3 separate regions of the Homo sapiens genome follow, and regions 1 and 3 are each linked to region 2. Evidence: promoter capture Hi-C in 16 types of primary human blood cells and fetal thymus (Javierre and others, 2016). All regions are on one chromosome and are shown on one strand. The core of a region is centred on a gene start or on the middle of the fragment in contact, and the rest is flanking DNA. Distances in the headings are between cores, read along the strand shown. Region 1 overlaps TGFBR1 (transforming growth factor beta receptor 1). Region 2 holds the start of CAVIN4 (caveolae associated protein 4). Region 3 has its middle 51 kb from the start of ALG2.

The links. The method cuts DNA at HindIII sites, captures the fragments that hold promoters and counts their contacts. A CHiCAGO score of 5 or more calls a contact.
Region 1: a contact is called between a fragment that was not itself captured here and the fragment with the promoter of CAVIN4 in region 2, in 1 of 17 cell types (total B cells). The highest score is 6.7, in total B cells.
Region 3: a fragment that was not itself captured here is called in contact with the fragment with the promoter of CAVIN4 in region 2 in 3 of 17 cell types (M0 macrophages, M2 macrophages and fetal thymus); the score reaches 8.4 in M0 macrophages.

The regions. Positions count from the first base shown.
Region 1 is chr9:99,148,849-99,151,548 of GRCh38, forward strand. TGFBR1 (transforming growth factor beta receptor 1) reads left to right here. Exons shown (of 9, transcript NM_004612.4): 9 at 332-2,700. The coding sequence ends at 457. Among named protein-coding and RNA genes, the nearest start is that of TGFBR1, 45 kb to the left of the region's middle. The HindIII fragment of the contact is 187 bases long and covers 1,188-1,374 here.
Region 2 is chr9:100,576,645-100,579,344 of GRCh38, forward strand. CAVIN4 (caveolae associated protein 4) reads left to right here and starts at 1,435. Exons shown (of 2, transcript NM_001018116.2): 1 at 1,435-1,907. The coding sequence starts at 1,500. MSANTD3-TMEFF1 (MSANTD3-TMEFF1 readthrough) reads left to right here. Exons shown (of 10, transcript NM_001198812.1): 10 at 1-992. It overlaps TMEFF1 (transmembrane protein with EGF like and two follistatin like domains 1), which reads left to right. Exons shown (of 10, transcript NM_003692.5): 10 at 1-992. The HindIII fragment of the contact is 485 bases long and covers 1,235-1,719 here.
Region 3 is chr9:99,169,261-99,171,960 of GRCh38, forward strand. No RefSeq gene overlaps it. Among named protein-coding and RNA genes, the nearest start is that of ALG2, 51 kb to the right of the region's middle. RefSeq lists enhancers at 1,423-2,205, 2,232-2,401. The HindIII fragment of the contact is 5,684 bases long and covers 1-2,700 here.

The DNA of each region.
Region 1 (2,700 bases), core at 31-2,530, 1.4 Mb before region 2:
AGAAAAATTTGATGTGAATACTTCAAAGTACAAACTTAAAATTTCAGTGTGAGGTCAGATTTCTTCTTTGCTTTGCCCAGCTCTGGTTTAGGATTCGGCCTTTTCAGGTTTGCTAAATGAGTCACTCTTTGTCCACCTGCTTTCCAGCACTGGCACCAGTACCCTATTGATGGAAATTTATGTAATTTCTACTCATTTGCTATTACAAATAATGCTTAAACAATAACAAGTGTATATGTCATTTAAAAAGAAAATTTACACGTAAAAATTCTTATCCAGACCAATGGAAAATGGTGCATGCATTAATTTTTTTTTTTATATTTTCTTGTAGGCCTTGAGAGTAATGGCTAAAATTATGAGAGAATGTTGGTATGCCAATGGAGCAGCTAGGCTTACAGCATTGCGGATTAAGAAAACATTATCGCAACTCAGTCAACAGGAAGGCATCAAAATGTAATTCTACAGCTTTGCCTGAACTCTCCTTTTTTCTTCAGATCTGCTCCTGGGTTTTAATTTGGGAGGTCAATTGTTCTACCTCACTGAGAGGGAACAGAAGGATATTGCTTCCTTTTGCAGCAGTGTAATAAAGTCAATTAAAAACTTCCCAGGATTTCTTTGGACCCAGGAAACAGCCATGTGGGTCCTTTCTGTGCACTATGAACGCTTCTTTCCCAGGACAGAAAATGTGTAGTCTACCTTTATTTTTTATTAACAAAACTTGTTTTTTAAAAAGATGATTGCTGGTCTTAACTTTAGGTAACTCTGCTGTGCTGGAGATCATCTTTAAGGGCAAAGGAGTTGGATTGCTGAATTACAATGAAACATGTCTTATTACTAAAGAAAGTGATTTACTCCTGGTTAGTACATTCTCAGAGGATTCTGAACCACTAGAGTTTCCTTGATTCAGACTTTGAATGTACTGTTCTATAGTTTTTCAGGATCTTAAAACTAACACTTATAAAACTCTTATCTTGAGTCTAAAAATGACCTCATATAGTAGTGAGGAACATAATTCATGCAATTGTATTTTGTATACTATTATTGTTCTTTCACTTATTCAGAACATTACATGCCTTCAAAATGGGATTGTACTATACCAGTAAGTGCCACTTCTGTGTCTTTCTAATGGAAATGAGTAGAATTGCTGAAAGTCTCTATGTTAAAACCTATAGTGTTTGAATTCAAAAAGCTTATTTATCTGGGTAACCCAAACTTTTTCTGTTTTGTTTTTGGAAGGGTTTTTGTGGTATGTCATTTGGTATTCTATTCTGAAAATGCCTTTCTCCTACCAAAATGTGCTTAAGCCACTAAAGAAATGAAGTGGCATTAATTAGTAAATTATTAGCATGGTCATGTTTGAATATTCTCACATCAAGCTTTTGCATTTTAATTGTGTTGTCTAAGTATACTTTTAAAAAATCAAGTGGCACTCTAGATGCTTATAGTACTTTAATATTTGTAGCATACAGACTAATTTTTCTAAAAGGGAAAGTCTGTCTAGCTGCTTGTGAAAAGTTATGTGGTATTCTGTAAGCCATTTTTTTCTTTATCTGTTCAAAGACTTATTTTTTAAGACATGAATTACATTTAAAATTAGAATATGGTTAATATTAAATAATAGGCCTTTTTCTAGGAAGGCGAAGGTAGTTAATAATTTGAATAGATAACAGATGTGCAAGAAAGTCACATTTGTTATGTATGTAGGAGTAAACGTTCGGTGGATCCTCTGTCTTTGTAACTGAGGTTAGAGCTAGTGTGGTTTTGAGGTCTCACTACACTTTGAGGAAGGCAGCTTTTAATTCAGTGTTTCCTTATGTGTGCGTACATTGCAACTGCTTACATGTAATTTATGTAATGCATTCAGTGCACCCTTGTTACTTGGGAGAGGTGGTAGCTAAAGAACATTCTGAGTATAGGTTTTTCTCCATTTACAGATGTCTTTGGTCAAATATTGAAAGCAAACTTGTCATGGTCTTCTTACATTAAGTTGAAACTAGCTTATAATAACTGGTTTTTACTTCCAATGCTATGAAGTCTCTGCAGGGCTTTTACAGTTTTCGAAGTCCTTTTATCACTGTGATCTTATTCTGAGGGGAGAAAAAACTATCATAGCTCTGAGGCAAGACTTCGACTTTATAGTGCTATCAGTTCCCCGATACAGGGTCAGAGTAACCCATACAGTATTTTGGTCAGGAAGAGAAAGTGGCCATTTACACTGAATGAGTTGCATTCTGATAATGTCTTATCTCTTATACGTAGAATAAATTTGAAAGACTATTTGATCTTAAAACCAAAGTAATTTTAGAATGAGTGACATATTACATAGGAATTTAGTGTCAATTTCATGTGTTTAAAAACATCATGGGAAAAATGCTTAGAGGTTACTATTTTGACTACAAAGTTGAGTTTTTTTCTGTAGTTACCATAATTTCATTGAAGCAAATGAATGAGTTTGAGAGGTTTGTTTTTATAGTTGTGTTGTATTACTTGTTTAATAATAATCTCTAATTCTGTGATCAGGTACTTTTTTTGTGGGGGTTTTTTTTTTGTTTTTTTTTTTTTGTTGTTGTTTTTGGGCCATTTCTAAGCCTACCAGATCTGCTTTATGAAATCCAGGGGACCAATGCATTTTATCACTAAAACTATTTTTATATAATTTTAAGAATATACCAAAAGTTGTCTGATTTAAAGTTGTAATAC
Region 2 (2,700 bases), core at 185-2,684:
TTATGTCTTTTTTTAAAGAATGGAAATATTTATTTCAGAGGCCTTATTTTTGGACATTTTTAGTGTAGTACTGTTGGCTCGTATTTAGAATATTCAGCTACGACAGTTTTGGACTGTTTAGTAGTCTTTGTTTTATGTTTTTAAATACAGAAATTGCTTTCACAAATTTGTACCACATGGTAATTCTAAGACTTGTTCTTTACCCATGGAATGTAATATTTTTGCAAAGATGGACTACTTCACAAATGGTTATAAAGTCATATCCACTTCTTCCACAATGACCACAGCAAATGACCAAGCATGAACTAAAGGTAAAGATGTTTACAGATTACTTTTCTTACAAAAAAAATCTAGAAGACACTGTGTTTAAATAGATATTTAAATGTTTTTGAGATTTAGTAACTGATTTTTTAGACACTGCCTATCGCATGAACTGTAAAGCTGTGTGTATTAGGTGTAAAATATTTATAAGATATATGGACTGGGGAATTTGATTATTCCTCCCTTTGAAAAAATAGTCCTAATAATTTGAACAAATATGTTAGTAATGATGGAACAGATCAATGAAAAGTAGATATAGATATTGTGAAAATAGGCTGTTTAACAAACAGATTGGAATAAAGCCTATTCTACCAGTTAAACTACTTTAATACACATTCATTTTTAAAGAAAATGTTTGTTTTAACATAAATAAACAAATCGTATCAGTGTTTGTGAATAAAATACAAAAATGATTGTTAATGATTGGTGCTCTTAAAGTGAGCTTAAAATTTATCCAAGACGTATATCCAAATTTGTCCTGTAGTAATAGATTAATATTCATAGATTGTTGGTGTTTAAAGATCTGAAGTGTGAGTAGAATGTATTCAGCTGTTTAACATGTAGTTTAGATATTCAAAAGTATGCATGTAGAATTTAAAGAATATGTTAAAAATTATTAATTTTAATATTTTGTTTGGAAAAGCATGTTATAATATAATGTTTTCACTATATGGCCTCTGTTTTGGTGTGTTTATTTACCAAATTTTTTGATATTGGTGTTTCAGTATATTTAATATGTGAAATTAGTAGAAAAAGCAGATTTCGGTTCAGAATTCCCCTTTACTGTTACAAATACTGATTGAAATTATCTAAAGGCAAAAGCTTTACCCAACATTTGGAGTTTGCTTTTTTGATCATTTGGCTTCTAGGTTTAATATTAGTTACATGGTGGCTTTAGTGAACTTTTTTAAAAAGCTTTACTCTTCTACCCACACAGTCTTATTTGAGTCCCTTAGTCAGTCAGCAAGCATGTTTGGAACAGTCCCCGGTGCTTTGCAAGGGTTCAGATTGCAGAACAGTCACATATGGGTATTTGTAGTTATAAATACTTGACCGTTCTCTAGGGGTGGGGTTTCCAACTCTTTAAACAACCCTGTTGCCTGTTATCAAGCTGACTTTTTGCTCCAAGTGCCAGAATTGATTGTGGTTAGGACATCTTACGCTGAGAAATAAATAAAATGGAACATAATGGGTCTGCTTCAAATGCTGATAAAATCCACCAGAATCGCCTGTCGAGTGTTACAGAAGATGAAGACCAAGACGCTGCTCTTACCATTGTGACTGTGCTGGACAAAGTAGCCTCCATCGTGGACAGTGTGCAGGCAAGCCAGAAGAGAATAGAAGAGAGACACAGGGAAATGGAAAATGCCATAAAATCCGTCCAGATTGACCTGTTGAAGCTTTCACAGTCGCATAGCAATACAGGGCATATCATTAACAAATTGTTTGAGAAAACCCGAAAAGTTAGTGCTCACATTAAAGATGTGAAAGCCCGGGTGGAGAAGCAACAAATTCATGTTAAAAAAGTTGAAGTCAAGCAAGAGGAAATAATGAAGAAAAACAAATTCCGCGTGGTAATATTCCAGGTAAGCTTGCACTTGTGTTCAGCTTGCTTGTTCTAATCTCTTGCATCTTTTAATTGCCAAAAGTCATATCAGAGGTTTCCAGTGTCACATCTTAACTATTGTATATATTAATACAATGGAGTTCTGTATTAGCAGCAATCTCAGGATAAAACCATTTCTCTGTTAACCAAAGTACTATCTGTCATTTCGGTATTTTGAGCTTCTCAACCATTTCATGTAATATGAACTGTGGCTCATAGCTTAGGCTATTTCTTGCCTTTGAAACTTAATATTGGTAAGGCCCTTTCAGCATATTAGCCTTATTAGCATGAAGCCCTCTCATAGACTTTGAAAATGTTAGAACTAGAAGAAGACTCAGAAGCCTCTAGTTTAAAACACTTCTTTGTTCTCTAAAAGAAGAAACTGACAACCAGTAGCAGTGGTTTTTTCTGCTTATATGGAGAGCCTGGAAAGGCCTAAACAGTAGATATAAACTTTTCAGAATGTGATTTGTGTATTGGAATTTTTACATATAGATCACAATGATAGCGATTTTCCAATGAACAATGAGGCAATTATTTTTCTTATTATTATAGTAATACAAATATATGAGTCACATAAGTAGTTTCCTATGTTTGATTACAAAGTCTTTTTACTTAAGTGATTTAATATAATATTTTGTGTGTGGCATTGTGTATTGAGCTAAGTTCCCATATTATTCTGCGCTTGGCACTCATATTTTTGGAAATAGGAACATATTTATGGCAAATGCATAATATCTATGGTATATTTTCAAAACTCTTACAGTTAAAAG
Region 3 (2,700 bases), core at 131-2,630, 1.4 Mb before region 2:
TTTCTTACCAGGTGGCTCTGAGAGCTGGGAGATGAGCCACCTCTCATTTGCATTTCTGAGAGAGGCAGGCAGGGAAAAGAAGCCTGGCTCAGAGCATTGTCTCCAGCCCGAGTCACTTTTGGGCTGTGTATCAATCAGAGTTCCAAAAGAACCTGATGGGGATATAGATTAAGAGTTTTATTGCAAGGAATTGGCTTACATCATTACGGAATCTGAGGGGCAGGCCGTCAGGAAAGGAAGGCTGGGGCCCTGGGACAGGATCTATGGCCTCAGTCTACAGGCAGAATTTCTTCTTCAGGAAAGCCTCAGCCCTGCTCGACTGATTGAATCAGGCCCACCCTGGTTATCCAAGACAATCTTTTTTATCCAAAGTCCACTGATTTCAACCCCATCTACAATATACTTTCATAGCAATTCCTAGAGTAGCATTTGCTTGAATATGGGACTGTTCACAAGTTCACACATCAAACTGTCACAGGTTGACTTGGCTGAAACAGATTGTGTGAGAGCAGAGGCTAAGTGGGGGGCGTTGGAGTTTTGTTGTAGTTGTTGTTGTTTTGTTATTTTCTGGAAATCAATGTTATTTCCTTAGATGATACTACCCAGGGTAATCACGGCTGCAACGAGTTATTCCATCTATCAGTGGAATGAAGCATTTTTTTTTGCCAACTTGATGCTTGACTTTCCTAACTTACCTGCAAGAAGCGACCCCATTAGCCTCTTTCACAGGTGAGGAGCACACCTCAAGTTCTCTTGCTCATAAACCCAGTAGGAGTCACTGGGATTTGGCCCTCATCATGGTCACTGAGGGGTTAAACCTGCCGCAGCTCTGCTGACCCCTGAGGGTTTCAGCCAGTACTCCATGGCCATTAATCATCCTCATCTGGGACCAGGGCTGCGGGGAACAACGTTTACTAGCAATTAACCTACAGTAGAGGGACCATTGTTTCCCCCGCCTGCACTCCCCTCCTCTGCACGCCCAATTACTCTAAATTAACATTTACCAAGCAAAGTGCCTGTTAATTGGAAGGGCAGTAGAAAGAAAGGCCACACACCTACCCAGTCTAACTTAATAACCTCAAAAGCAGCCATTAATTAACAGGGCAGCGTTTCCATTCAGATCTTGTTTAGACAGTTCGGCAGTTAACTCTGTGTCTGTGTTTCTGAGCTCAGCCCTGCACCGCATCTCCCTGCCCTCCCTTGCCAGCAGCTCAGATGAAAAACACACTCATAAAGAAATCTTCACTCTCTAGAATGTCTGCACTGGCCAGGGGACTTAGGGATTCCTGGGGACAGCCTTCTTACTGTGTAGATGGGGAAACAGGCTGAGAAAGGCCTCAGGGTCCCAGGGTCAGACACTAGCTGGAGGCCTCCTGGCTGGGGGCTCCTATCCACCCTGCCCGATGTGTGTGGGTGTGACATGCTTTCTGTCCTCTCTGGTCTCAGTGCCTGATGCCAGGCACTCAGGATGTGGACTTGCATGAAGCCGGGGAGCAGGGGTGGGGCTGGGGGTGCGGGTAGAAAGGGGGATGCTTCTAAGAGGAGAGAGGGAGGGATGGAGAGGAGGGGGCTCCCTCTCACAAATGGAGAGCAGCTGCGGTGTCTCCAGGCAGCCCCGAAGGCCTTCGTCCATTGTCCCTCCCCACTTGTGCAGTTGGGTTGAGTGGCAACTGTACCCCCAGCCCAGCAAATGGAGGGTCCTGCCCACTTGACCCTGGGCATCCCTCGAGCCCAGCCTTCCTTTCCTGTGCATACTCATGGTCTCCTCCTCATTTGGTAGCCCTGGGGACCCCTGGCCAGTACCCTTCTTTCCCCAGGGCAACTGTTCACAGCCTCCTGACTTGCCTTAATGTCCTCATCAGACAACCTCACCTCCCTCCCTGAGAAACTCAAGCCCTCCAGGAGGGGCCTGCTTAGCTTCCCTTCCTCCCCCTGGGGCTCAGCCTGCCCTGTCTATAGGGCCTGCCTTGTTGGTGGTAGTTGGTTGCAGAGTTGGCCTCAACCCCCAATCTGGATCTGGACTCTGGTCTCGCGCCTCTCCAGGCTCCTTCGGGCTCATCGTCTCTCTGCAGGTCTCCACTCGCTCACTTCCCCTGCATCCTCCCCACAGCACAGGGCATACTCTCAGGGGACGCCCCTCCTAAATCAGCCCTGCCGTCCCCCATGGTCCTCCAGCTGGTGTCGAGCTTCTCCAAAGGGACATTGCACAGGTTGCGTTTTCCCACCTCCCACCCACTCTCAATTCTCCATAGTTGACCTTTGGCCCTCAACTGCCCCACAGAAACTGCCTTTCTCAAGTTTAAAACAACCTCCTTGTTACTAAGTCCAGGAGACACTGTGTAGGTTTCTGTTTTTGTTTTTTTATATGACCTTTTTGTAGGATTTTCTGCTGTTGCCCACTCACTCCCTCCCTCCCCTCTGAAACTCCTGACTTCCATGATAGCACTCTTTGTTTCCCAGGCGTTTCTTTCTGCCAGTCCCCACAGGATTTTCTGTGCTGGCCCCTTCTCTTCTGGTCACATATTCTCCGTGGGTGGCCTCATCCACTCTGTGGCCCCATTACCAACTAGATGAGGAAGAAGGGGAAGAGGAGGAAGATGATGACAGTGACAACTCCCAAATCTCTATACTGGGCCAGATTTAACTCCTGAGCCTCAGACTCCATCAACCACCTGGGAGTCCTCCTACTTGGGAGTCCTG